2 separate regions of the Homo sapiens genome follow, and region 2 is linked to region 1. The links are contacts of gene promoters, found by promoter capture Hi-C in human tissues and cell types (Jung and others, 2019). All regions are on one chromosome and are shown on one strand. Each heading gives the region's core, a stretch centred on a gene start or on the middle of the fragment in contact. The rest is flanking DNA. Distances are from core to core; before and after follow the strand shown.

Evidence for each region. The method cuts DNA at HindIII sites, captures the fragments that hold promoters and counts their contacts. A contact is called where the count stands out against the background at its distance.
Region 2: a contact is called between a fragment that was not itself captured here and the fragment with the promoter of SLC38A7 in region 1, in 6 of the 25 tissues and cell types used here (H1 embryonic stem cells, bladder, hippocampus and 3 more).

What each region holds. Positions count from the first base shown.
Region 1 is chr16:58,681,417-58,688,388 of GRCh38, forward strand. SLC38A7 (solute carrier family 38 member 7) reads right to left here and starts at 3,354. Exons shown (of 12, transcript NM_018231.3): 1 at 3,301-3,354; 2 at 2,539-2,762. RefSeq lists enhancers at 2,726-3,570, 3,081-3,140. The HindIII fragment of the contact is 12,070 bases long and covers 495-6,972 here.
Region 2 is chr16:58,535,068-58,541,952 of GRCh38, forward strand. It overlaps CNOT1 (CCR4-NOT transcription complex subunit 1), which reads right to left. Exons shown (of 49, transcript NM_016284.5): 34 at 6,434-6,553; 35 at 4,701-4,892; 36 at 3,705-3,847; 37 at 3,091-3,199; 38 at 2,824-2,993; 39 at 1,922-2,153. Among named protein-coding and RNA genes, the nearest start is that of SNORA46, 10 kb to the right of the region's middle. The HindIII fragment of the contact is 7,254 bases long and covers 1,347-6,885 here.

The sequences.
Region 1 (6,972 bases), core at 2,104-4,603:
ACACAATTGAGATGCAGTTTTTTTTCTTCCAAGAATCTCGAGAGGCTCTGAGGAGCCCAGCCCTGAAAAAGGATCTTCAGTGTTCTCAAGGTTCAGCTCATAGCCTGAGACCCGCAGAGAAATGATGGTCCTAAAGCATCAAGTCCACCCCCAGATCAAGAGCAGCCCTGGGCAGGGCTGTGATCTGGGTCTCCGAGTAGGTTCTGCCGTCAGAATGCTGACTCCTCCGCTGCCTATCTGTGTGACCCTGGGCAAGTCACTTCGCCCCTTTAGGCCTTTACATCATATGTTCCTGTGGGTCGTGTGTTAATATCAGTAAGGGTTTAAGACTCAATAAATGGTCACTGCTGCTGTTATTTCTGCAGATGCCCCTTCCCATGTTGCCCACCACCACCATGCCTGAGACTCTCCAGCCCTAAGCAAGCAGGGAGCAGAACACTGATCAAAACCAGAGCCTGGGCCGGGTGTGGTGGCTCACATCTGTAATTCCAGCACTTTGAGAGGTCGAGGTGGGCAGATCACCTGGGGTCAGGAGTTTGAGACCAGCCTGGCCAACATGGTGAAACCCCATCTCTACTAAAAATACAAAAATTAGCCAGGTGTGGTGGTGCACCCCTGTAATCCCAGCTGTGCAGGAGGCTGAGGCAGGAGAATCGCCCGAAATTAGGAGACAGAGTTTGCAGTGAGCCCAGATCACGCCACTGCACTCCAGTCTGGGCGACAGAGTGAGACTCTATCTCAAAACAAACAAACAAACAAAACTCAAACCACAGCCTGGTGCTATTGGCCAGGTAACAATGGGCACAGAGGCCCTGGGATAGCTAATGGGAGAAAGAGCAGGAAGAAGGCCAGATTTCAAGGGCAGGAACTAAGGGGGCAGGGAGGAGCCAGGGCAGTCTTCCCCAGAGGCTGCTATTAGCTGGTTACCACCCAGGCTGGCGAAATCTGCCAAAGACTCCTTCTCCTAGAGTCTCCTCATTCCTGAGTCCCGATTTCACGGTACTCATACAAAACTCCATTTTAATCTCTACTCCCTCCCTGGTTTAGTCTTTATTTATTTAGAGACAGGGTATCACTCTGTTGCCCAGGCTGGAGTGCAGTGGCGCAATCAGAGCTCACTGCAGCCTCAATCTACCAGGCTCAAGCAATCCTCCCACCTCAACTTCCCGAGTACCTGGGACTACAGGTGTGTGCCACCACAGCCAGCTAACTTTTAAAATTTTTTTTTTTTTTGAGACGGAGTCTTGCTTTGTCACCCAGGCTGGAGTGCAATGGCACAATCTCAGCTCACTGCAACCTCTGCCTCCCGGGTTCAAGAGACTTTCCTGCCTCAGCCTCCTGAGTAGCTGGGATTACAGGTGCCCGCCACCATGCCTGGCTAATTTTTGTATTTTTAGTAGAGATGGGGTTTTGCCATGTTGGCCAGGCTGGTCTTGAACTCCTGACCTTGTGATCCCCCTTGGCCTCCCAAAGTGCTAGGATTACAGGCGTGAGCCACCACGCCTGGCCAACTTTTTAAATTTTTTGTTCCTGTGGGGAACAAAATTGGCCTTTCAAAATTCAGGCCAATTCTCAACTCTTCTCCCATGTGACTTCTCCCACGTGACAAGCCCCCCACGCCTGTCATGTTTAAATTTTCTGTAGAGATGAGGAGGTCTCACTATGTTGCCCAGGCTGGTCTTGAACTCCTGGGCTCAAGCAATCCTGCTGCCTCGGCCTCCCAAAGTGCTGGGATTACAGGCGTGAGCCACAGCCCCCAGCCTGGTTTAGTCTTTATAGCCCAGAGGGAAAAAAAGGGAACTGAGCATATTCAGCCATAATGACTGCCCTAACCATTGGGCCACCCTCTCTGATGCCTTCAGCCCACTGGGGGTTTAAAATGACTAACAAGACCCCTTGGACTACTTCCCATTGCTCCTCCTGATGATGGACAAACAAAGCTGGGGACCATCCACTCATGAGAGGGAAAGGGTGAAAGTTCATGTGCTCTCAGCCATCTGTTATCAAGCATGGAACCAAGGGACATGGCACCAGAGGAAACATTCCTCTGCTGGCTCGAAACCCAGAAAGATCTGTCAGATGTCACAGGGCTTACACATCCTCTTACACATCCTGTCACCCAACCAGCAACTCAGCAAAATCAAAGCAGTGAGCAGCGAAGGCAGAGTCTTGGGACTCCCAGGCTTCCAGTGTAGCTAGAGAAAGAACCCTGCAAAGTGACCACTGCCAGAGCTGTGACCATCTCCTCCCCGCTGCTCACGTCACAGAGACAGAGGTCTACAGAGTGATTCGTCCAAGGTCACAAGGCTTGGTGCGGCTTCCTGACTCTCCAACCAAAATGTTTCCCTTGGGCACCCCTGCCCGAGTCCTGCACCATCCTCCAGCCTCTCCTGCCACCCACATGAGAGTGCAGGCTGGGGTCCTCGTGGAACTCAGAAGCTGGGGGTCCCACCTCTTGCAGATTCTCTGCCTTGGTTAAGACCTCTCGGCACCCCCACTGCTCACTGGCAAATTACTCAGCTCATTGTTGCACCTTACCTGCTCTTTCTCCCTGATGGGCTGTGCCAGAGGCGGTTGCTCCTTCTCCCCAAAGGTCTGGGATCTGATTCTCCTCACTTCCCTTTCTGGACCCAATTTCTTCTTTCTCAAGACTTTGCCTAAAATTTGCTGTCAGCAGAGGGAAGAGTTTGGGCTACTTCTGTGCTGGCTTCAGCAGAGCTGGAGGAAACTGAGCGGCTCTCACGCTTACTCATGAAATGGAGCTTCAGGACAGATAGGAAAACAGGCCCAGGAGGGAGAGGTTAGACTAAGGTCACAGTGGGTAGCTGGCAGAGCCAGAATAGAAGCCTGATGCCCACATGCTCAGGCCAGCGATGTAGGCCCCTCAGATCCCAACTGGAGTGTGCTCCCAGTCCAGCCTGGGGTTGGAGCCCTGAGATAGAAAGGGTGGGCTGCTTTGTGAGGTGAGGCTTTGTGAGGTGAGCCAGGGCGCACCCGGGCCAGGAGGCCGGGGCGGGGCGATTCCCAGGCCTGGAGCGAGAAGGGTGGGCTACTGTGGGGTAACCTGGGGAGGAGCTCCGGGACCCGATCCCGGCCTAGGACTGGGTGGAGACCCTCTGGCTGGGTAAAGGCGCGGCAGAGCTGGCGCAACAGAGGGACGGGCGTGGGGCGAGGACGCCAGGATCTGGACCCCTGCAGGGAAAGGGTCTGAGCTTTTCCGCGGTGGCGGGGACTGAGGGGCTCCACAGACCTCGGGGATCTAACACTTCCACCCTCCAGAGCCTGTCTCCGGCCACCTACCTTGGGGGATTCTTTCCCGAGCCGGCTGCGGAGACACGTGAGCATGCATCACATGACGCCCGCTCGGGCGGCCGCGGGACACGCTGGGAGTTGTAGTTTCCGCAAATGTGAAGCTTGGACAACACCAGCTCCCTGAATCCTCAGCCCGACAGCACTGCCCTGAGCCAGCCTCGCGTCCAGCCAGCTCGTGTTTATCCTCTTACTTTTAGTCTTGGCCTCTTGACCAAATCAAACACTGCTCCTTCCTCCAAGGAAGAGCATTAGGAGGTCTGGCCTCTTTGCCAGTCCCGGTGGCGGTGGGCCAAAGCTGTTTGGCCTCATTATCCTCCCGGTCTCTGTCCTTGCCTTCACGCCCATGGCCAGAGCACTGGAGTTTTTTTTTAATCAGTAATGTGGGGGACCTGGAGCCACGGTCTTTCCTGCAAGGGAGTGGGCTGGGGGCATGGTTACGACCCCATCGGTTTAGACTCTAGAACAGTTTTTGAGGGATTGTAGGTGCTCAGTAAATATTTGTTGAATGACGAAATGGGCATCCAGTCCTGGTTCTGTTCTTGGCTGTGTGTCACTCATAAATTGTCACGTAATCTCCAGCATCCCAATAGCCTCATCTCTGTTTTGTGGATATGCTCTCCACTGCACTTACCTCTCCATGCATCAGAGGTCCTCACCGATGAGGACACACTGGGAATCCTTAGAAACCCAAATCACACCTTTTTTTTTTTTTTTTTTTTTTTTTTTTTTGAGACAGAGTCTCACTCTGTCTCCCCGGCTGGGGTGCAGTGGCACGATCTTTGCTCACTGCAACCTCTGCCTCCCGGGTTCATGTGATTCTCCTGCCTCAGCCTCCCGAGTACCTGGGATTACAGGCATGCACCACCACTCCCAGCTAATTTTTGTATTTTTAGTAGAGATGGGGTTTCGCCATGTTGGCCAGGTTGGTCTCAAACTCCTGACCTCAAGTGATCCACCCACCTCAGCCTCCCAAAGTGCTGGGATTACAGGCATGAGCCACCGTGCCTGGCCTCCAAAAAGTTTATATAAATTGAATCATACTGGTTGAGTGCGGTGGCTCACACCTGTAATCCCAGCACTTTGGGAGGCCAAGGCGGGCTGATCACTTGAGGTCAGGAGTTCGAGACCAGCCTGGCCAACATGGCGAAGTCCTGTCTCTATTAAAAATACAAAAATTAGCTGGGCATGGTGGTGCACGCCAGTAGTCCCAGCTACTCGGGAGCCTGAGGCAGGAGAATCACTTGAACCCGGGGGGCGGAGGTGGCGGTGAGCAGAGATCGTGCCACTGCACTCCAGCCTGGGAGACAGAGTGAGACTCTGTCTCAAAAAAAAAAAAAAAAATAGAATCATACTGTCTTAATCAGTTAAGGCCGCTATAACAGAGTATCATAGACTGGGTGGTTTAAACGACAGAGATTTATTTTTCACCGTCCTGGAAGCTGTCAAGACTGAGGTCAGAATGCCAGCAGAGTCAAGTTCTGGGGAGGACCATCTTCATAGTTTTCAGATGGCCATCTTCCTGCTGTGTCCTCACATTGCGGAAAGCAGAGAGGGAAAGTAAACTCTCTCTTATTTTTATTTATTTTATTATTATTATTATTTTTAGAGACACGGTCTCTGTTGCCCAGGCTGGAGGGCAGTGGCGCAATCACAGCTCACTGCAGTCGCCATCTCCCAGGCTCCACTAGTCCTCCCGCTTCAGCCTCCCAAATAGTTGAGACTACAGGCATGCGTGCCATCATGCCTAGCTAACTTTTCATTTTTTATAGAGACAAGGTCTTCCTATGTTGCCCAGAATGGCCTCAAACTCCTGGGCTCAAGTGAACCTCCTGTCTCAGTCTCCCCAAGTGCTTGGATTACAGGCATGAGCCACCATGCCTGGTCTTGTTTCTTCTTATAAGTGAACTAATCCTGCGGCTGGGTGTGGTGGCTCACGCCTGTAATTCCAGCACTTTGGGAGGCCGAGGCAGGTAGATCATGAGGTCAGGAGTTCAAGACCAGCCTGACCAACATGGTGAAACCCCATCTCTACTAAAAATACAAAACAAATTAGCTGGGTGTGGTGGCATGCGCCTGTAATCCAGCTACTCAGGAGGCTGAGGCAGGAGAATTGCTTGAACCCAGGAGGCAGAGGTTTCAGTGAGCCGAGATCGTGCCACTGCATTCCAGCCTGGGTGACAGAGTAAGACTCTGTCTCAAAAAAAAAAAAAATAGTACTAATCCCATCATGAGGGCTTTAATTACCTAATTACCTCCCAAAGGCACGTCTCCAAATACTATCACGTTGGGGATTAGGGTTTCCACATATCAGTTTGGGATGAACACAAACATTCAGTTCATAGACCACACAGTCTGTAATTTTCTAAGATTGCCTTTTTTTTTTTAACTCAGTAAAATTCCCTAGAAGAGATTCATCTAAGCTATATACGTCAACACAGATAGGTTTTATTGCTGAGTAGTATTCAGTGGTATGTATGTACCACAGTTTACTTACCCATCACTCTTTGAAGGACATTTGAATTGTCTGCCTTTTTTTTTTTAACATAGCTTTATTGAGGCCAGGCATGGTGGCTCATGCCTGTAATCCCAGTACTTTGGGAGGCTGAGGCAGGCAGATCATTTGAGGTCAGGAGTTCGAGACCAGTCTGGCCAACATGGTGAAACTCTTGTCTCTACTAAAAATACAAAAATTAGCTGGGTGTGGTGGTGCATGTCTGTAATCCCTGTTACTCAGGAGGCTGAGTCACGAGAATCACTTGAACCTGGGAGGTGGAGGCTGCAGTGAGCCGAGATTGCGCCACTGCACTCCAACTTGGGCAACAGAGTGAGACTCTGCCTTGGAAAAAAAAATTTAAAAAATAAGAATAGTTTTGTTGAGATATTCGTATGCCATAAAATCCACCCTTTGAAAGAGTCCAATAAGGTGCATTTTAGTTTCTTCAGAGTTGTGCAATGATGACCACTATCTAATTTCAGAATATTGTGATCACCCTCCCCTACTAAAATCCTGAACCCATTAGCAGTCACTTCCCATCTCCCCCTCCACCAAGCCCCTGGCAACTCTGAATCTACTCTTTGCTTCTGTGGGTTTGCCTATTCTTGACCTTTCATATAAATTGAGTCACACAATATGTGACCTGTTCTGTCTGCTTCTTTCACTGAGCATACTGTTTTCAGTGCTCATCCTAGTTGGAACATGAACCAGTATTTCATTCATTTTTATTGCTGAATAATGTTCTGTTGTATGGCTATACCACATGTAGTGTGGCAGGTCCCCCATCAGGTTACTTGGAGGTGTATATCCACTGCTTGAATCCTGAATGCTGGGTGGTGAGCCAAGGCCATGGTGCCCAGCCTAGGAGCAGATATTCCTGAGAACTCAAACATCCTGGAGAGGATCTGAGAATCTACCAAGGAAAACAGTCCCACTGCATACACGCAGTAGGCAAAGAGCTAGAAAATTAGCTTAAAAATGGCTTAGAGATGGGAGGTGGCGCGGATCTCTAGCACTGTCCTGCTGCTGTCAAGGAGTGTCCCGTATGTAAGTCCTCAAACTCATCTACTCGCCAAGCTGGACTTGCCTGAGTCATTCTCTGGTCTCTCAACTGCCTCCAAGTTTGGGGGAAGGTTTTTCGTACAATTCAGTGTTTTTCTCATTAC
Region 2 (6,885 bases), core at 3,724-6,223, 140 kb before region 1:
TTGGCTAGTTCCCCTCAACCCTTTAAACAAACAAACAAAAAAAGACAACAGTAAAATATGCATTAAGGCTACAGAGGAAGAACAGTTCACTACTTACTAAACACAGAAACCAAGTTCCGAAAAAAAAAACTTCAAGGTTATCTTGAAATTTTTGAAACAACTTAACTGTTCCTGATAAGCAGTAAAGACAACTGAACTGGTTGGACTACGATAATACTGTACCCTGCTGGGACAGAATGCCAGCATGGCAAAGGGACTTTTTGTCTACACTGGTATCTGTAAAACTAACAGAGAGTGAGGAATATTAGGACTGAGTACTATGGTCAAGGAGGAGCGCAAGAAGGAAAGAATTTTCAAAAGGATACAAAACAGCACAGAAAAGTATAATACACTATCTTTTTCAAGAGAAAGATGAAATGAGAGCAAATAAGCCAGCAGGAAGGGCTGAGACAGGTGCCACATCCATACCCACGAAATAGCAATGATCAGAAAGACCAATGGATTCCAATTTCTTCCATTCAAATTATAAATCAGACTATAAAACATGCAGTAATAGCTTTTCAGTAGGGTATGCTTTGTAATTCCCTGGATTCTTTTAGGGGAGAAATATACTCGGTATGATTTACTGAGTAACATTCATTTTGAAAAGTAAACCTAATTTCTTTTTTTTTTTTAATTTTTTTTGAGACGGAGCCTCGCTCTGTCGCCCAGGCTGGAGTGCAGTGGTGCAATCTCGGCTCACTGTAAGCTTCATCTCCTGGGTTCACGCCATTCTTCTGCCTCAGCCTCCCGAGTAGCTGGGACTACAGGCACCCGCCACCACACCCGGCTAATTTTTTTGTATTTTTAGTAGAGACAGGGTTTCACTGTGTTAGCCAGGATGGTCTCGATATCCTGACCTCGTGATCCGCCTGCCTCGGCCTCCCAAAGTGCTGGGATTACAGGCGTGAGCCACAGCACCTGGCTGAAAAGTAAACCTAGTTTCAAATAACTTCTAGAATTGAAGTCAGTTCTTCCACATTCAATTGTCATTAATTTGAAAAGAGACCTAATTTGTAATCTTTCTTTAGCAATATACCTAAAAGTTTTGGGTTCAGTTTGAAGAAATATAATGGTCAATCTGCAGAAATAAGCAGACAACTCACCCTGAAAAAAAATTACAACAGTTCTAATAAAGGAAATTCCAAGGTCAATTCAGGAAAAGTACCACTCTTGCCAAGTTATATTATAAATTAGGACACATGGACTTATTGTGTCTGATTCCCTCACAGTCGCTGAAAGCAACCAGTGATAATAAAAAACGAATGCTAAATGGTACTATGGCTCGGTTCCGACATTTTTCCTGTTCATCCTATTCACAAACATTCCTGCCAAACTTGATTTTCAGTTAGGTGCTTTGTTCCTAACCCTTTTAAGTCAAAGTCCAACTTGCATCAAATCTAATGAAAATACTGGGAAGTATTTTCCAAAGGAACATGTCACTACGTTTAGGTAGATATTTAAATTAGAAAATACAATAAAACACTCTACCATTTAAATAAGCATTTTTGTTTTGTCATTTTTTTTTAATGTGGGCTACTGTGAGAATTTTACATATTTATTAGCCCACAGTCCCATCAGTGCTAGTAAAAATACATTTGGTAGTTTTATTATTCATTATCTGACCCATTGTACTTTGTAGCTGTGACAACTGAAATGGAATATACAGAACCAACGGTGGGAGGGAATGTTGCCTTTACTGCTTAGTGATCAACCATGAGAAAACAGGCTGTAATTTAACCATATAATGATGACAGTTTGGGTTTGCATGAGTATGGAGGTAACTGTCTGACCACATGTACGCAATACTGAGCTTTAATATTGGAGGCATCACACCCTACTTATGTTGAATAAAAAGCACCTTTCTTTCCAAAAGCTCTACCTGTCCAACAAATGCAGAGAAAGCTTTGGTACTGTCGCGGCCAGCTGCTGCTGAATGGTAGAGATTCACCCATTCCCTCAGAAGATACTCTGCCTTCTCCCTCAGGCCTGGAGGGTCATCATACTCTGAGGCTTGAGAGATCCCAGAATGCATCATAAAGTTTGGGCCTCCATGAGCACGATCAATCATTGCTTCATAGTTGGATCGCACTACTTCCATCAGCTGGGGCAATCTAGCACAATAAATAAAGGGTGAAAATCAGTCTCCTCGTAGTTGTGATTTTACAGACATACGCATGTATAGTTTGCTTATTTAACAGCAACCACCAGAGTGGTTTACCACTTCGCTTTACCACTTCCACACTGAAACAAAACTATACTTAGTCTCTTATCCGCTTGCTCATGAGCATACAACACACAAACAACTGCCCTCAGTTAAGCTACTTCTTGCCCAAAAAACGTGTTCATTTAAATGAAACTGATGTTCAGAGTCGACAAATATTCACTGTTTGCCTACTATGTACCATGCTTTCTTTACGTTACTTCTCTTGATTTCCAATAGTTCTTTGAGAAATTATTTCCATTTTCTATAAAGAATAGGTTTAAGGAGGATAAGTCAATTTGCCTAAAATCAGAAAGCTTTTAAGTGGCATGACCAGGGCTTAAACATAGGACTCTGACACTAAGTCTGGTACCGTATGTACTGCTCTGTGCCAAGAAGACTTGGCAGTCAATTAGGCTTTCATACTTCAAGTGACAATATTAGCCCTTACCAAAGCTACCCACCCATATGTGGTTGGTAAAGCAGTTATAACAAGTAATGTTAGTAAGTCTGCATATTCATTCCTAAAGATATTAGAAGACTACTAAATGCACAGGGATCTCAAAGCATTTCATCCTCACCCTTCTGGAGCATTGCCTCTGGAATGAGCATTAATCCTCATGAGGGTTTCAATGGTGTGGAACAGATCTGCCTCAGTAACATGAGCAACACTCCTTTCATCCACCAGCAGGATTTTTACTAACTGCATAGCAAATGCCACAGCCATGTAGTTTAAGCCATTCTCCATTGACTGGCAACACAGAAAACATAATGTGAGAGGGAAAACACTTAAGAGCAAACGTACTTCCCTGAGTCCTTTTGTCCGTGCAAGTAAATTCCTTCCATACCTGCGCTAGGTGAAGATCATACTGCTGCATATTAACCAAATGATTGCGAATTAGCAGCTCCACAGCCTCCACATTATATTTATATTCATCTCGACATTCAATTAGGCACCTAGAAAAAGTTCAATATCTTTACTCATATAGGCTTAACCATACTGTAAAAGGGCCCATTTTACTCAATGGAAATTTGCTCCAAACTAAGAATGCCTTGAGATTCAACTCCAAATCAGTGTCCAAATTTAAAAACAGCCAGTAATGAAATAGAACAGATAGCCCAAGCTTTCCTTTCAAATCCTAGGATACAGAGTATTCCATTTAAGACATTAAAATACTTATACACGAATACCACTTCTGAGAAATCACTGTAACCTTTTAAAACAATGACCTACAATTTATTCCCCAAAACAAGGTACTGGTTTTCTATATCCAACATGGGGAGAAGGTAGAGACCAGATGGAAAACAACTACTTAACAATTCTCACCTCTCAGAAGTAGGAAGTCTAAGTGTCCGACCTACCTACTAGAAAAAAGGGAAACCCCTGGACATAAACAGTACTATCTATGTCAAAAGGCAGTCGCAGTCCAATACTCACTACTTTTCGAAGATGGCTACTGACCTTGTGATCTGTTTGTTGCACCATGGAGACCCATATGCCCGGCCATCCTGCAGAGCTTTTAGGACCAAGAGGTGGCATTCCCTGTAGCGCAGCAGAAGGTCAGCATCAGCACCACTTGTGGCATCTAGTAAGCCCTCTACAGCCTATGGGAGAAAGAAAGCGTTCAAAACCATGAAAAATACAGTGCTTGGCCCAACTATCACAGCCAGAAACCAAATCTCAATGCCAAGTACCAAATACCTTCCAAAGCCTCCCTGTCCTTTCCACTCTCCAAACATCCCTTTCAGTTGCCTATCACACACACTCTAAATTCTATCTGATTTAAGTTCATTCTGTGCTCTTCATTGTCATAAAAGGCTCTGCTGTAGTTAAAATCCAGGGCTCCCTACCTACCCTGATCCAAATTATTGGATCAACTTGTCCCTCAAAATCTAAAGGGCAGCTGGGCTCAGTGGCTCATGTCTATAATCCTAGCGCTTTGGGAGGCTCAGGAGGGAGGGCCACTTGAGCCCAGGAGATTGAGAACGACCTGGACAACAAAGCAAGACCTGTCTCTACAAAAAAATTAAAAATTAGCTTGGCTTGGCAGTGAGCACCTGTAATACCAGCTACTCGAGAAGGTGATGTGGGAGGTTCACTTAAGCCCATGATCACATCACTGCACTCAAGCCTGACAGAGAGAGACCCTGTCTCTTACACACACACACACACACACACACACAGACACACACACCCCTCTAAAGGGCTACCTTTTAAAGTTTCTTCAAATCACATTTCCAGAATATCTTTAAGAAAAAAAATGAAGATTTCCAAGTTTACCATTCAAAACTGCCATGACTACATTCTACGTTGGAAAAAAAAAAAATCACCTACTTACAGAACTTGATTTATATTATGAAATCTTAAGCATAACTGCATAAATATGTAGATGGTGGTGCAGGTCAATAAATGTTTACACACCTAGCATTTTCTAAAAGTAATAGCTTAAGAACCAACCTTTTGGAGCAATCCAAGAGCAGCTATGGCATCCCGAGAGTTTCGAGATAAAACTACAACCTCCAAGAGACTTCGAAGAGCCTGAGCTTGAGGGTTCATGGCCAAAGTTGGTGGGATGGCATGTAGATGTTGCTCCAGTTCTGTAATACACTTATCATAAATCTGAGCTACATCATCTGTTGCCCAAGCTTGCTGTTTTACAGAAGGAAACAACCAACAAGAGACAAAAGAATGTTAAGGTTTTTTATTGACACATGTATCAAATAGAGGTCTACTAGTATGTTTACTCCCTTTTTCTTATTTTTACATTCAAACATGGAGGGCCTCTTCTTTTCCTTCTTCCTGAGCTATTCAGAATTAATACCATCAAGTGGCACAGTACAAGGCAGGCATAAGGGAAGAGGTGTTTCATTTGAGAGAGGAAAACCTGGCAGACAGCAGCATAATCAAGTGATAAAAGAGAGCATTAGTAACAATGAGACAGACTGAGGGCAGCACCACTTGTACCATCTACTAAGCCCTCTATATCCTAAGAAAGTAAGTGTTTCAAACCATGAAAAATACAGTACTCAGTCCAACTGTCAAAGCCTGATAGGATAGAGTAAGAATACAGCATTACTTCTGAGCTATTCCTATTTTTAAAAACACATTACCTGAACCTAGTCATGAGAATACACTGGACAAACAAATCAAGTCATTTAGAAAATAATTAGCCTATAATATTCAGAAGTGTTATGGTCATGAAAGATGAGGAAAAACTGAGTTACCTACACCAGCTAGAACTGAGGGAGACTTTAAAAATATGACAACTGAAGAAATGTGTGATTCTAAAACAGGTCTTTTACTATACATTATTGGGATACATGGTGAAACTCGAGTGAGGTCTATGAATTAGATGGAGTAAGGTTATTAGTATTCATTTCTGACCTTAATGGTTGTACCATGGTCACACAGGAAAAGGGTTTTTTAAGAAATACAAACCAAAGGAAAAAGGTTTTGTAAGAAATACAAACCAAAGGATTCAGGAGCGATGGGGGTATCAGGTCAGCAACTTACTATCGACCGGTTCGGGGGAAAATATTTTTCCCTATATTTCCAAGTTTTCTGTAAACACCTTTGAAAATTTTAGAAAATTCTTTTATTTAAAAAATGGGAAGGCTGGGCACAATGGCTCAGGCCTGTAATCCCAGCACTTTGGGAGGCCAAGGTAGGCGATCACTTGAGGTCAGCAGTTTGAGTCTAGTCTAGGCAACATGGCAAAACCCCATCTTTACAAAAAATACAAAAATTAGCTGAGCATGGTGGCACACGCCTGTAGTCCTAGCTCCTCAGGAGGCTGAGGTGGGAGGATCGCTTGAGTCTGGGAGGTGGAGGTTGCAATGAGCTGAGATCGCGCCACTGCACTCCAGCCTGGGTGACAGAGAAAGACCCTGTCTCAAAAAAATAAATAATAAAATTTAAAAATAAAAAACCGAAAGTTATTATGTTACCATGAGAATTCCCCTAATTAGGCCGAACATTAAAGTTAAATCACCCACACCCATGTCAATTTTTCTTTAATCCCCTGTATGTCATACTTAATTGGACACAAAGAATACCTACAACTCAAAAACTATAGGTGTTTTTTCCCCTGTAAATTATTCTCCCAGGAAGCAAGTCAAAAACATATATTAAATGTCAAAAACATTTAAATTAATTGGCAAAACACTCAATTTAATCTAAAACACATTTACCTTCATGGGCTGGGCTAAAAATCCCGTGGGCTGACTTAAGTCATTTGTAGGTAAGAAGCCAGGAACATTGCGTGCAAACTCTTCGTAAACAGCCAACTGCTTTGGGTCCACACCACCAACCTTGAAAGAAGAAAACCTATTTTGACAGAATTCACTCAATAATCAAAATAAACTGTTTTGAAAGTGGAAAGTCTGCATGTGGGTAAGCTCAGGGACACAAGAGTCATTACAACATATAACAGCATGATTAAGCATGCACGCACACACAAATGCAGTTCAGAAGAGGGCTTCTCATTTCCCTGAATCCTGCTAAGAGTCACCTCATTTATAAATTAACTGAGAGTTTCTCTTGGAAAATGCCTCACATGGGACGATGCCAGTGCAATTCTCCCTTGAAGCTGGTAAATATTATCAGATTTCTCACTGTCTCACTGGGAACAATAAGCAACCAT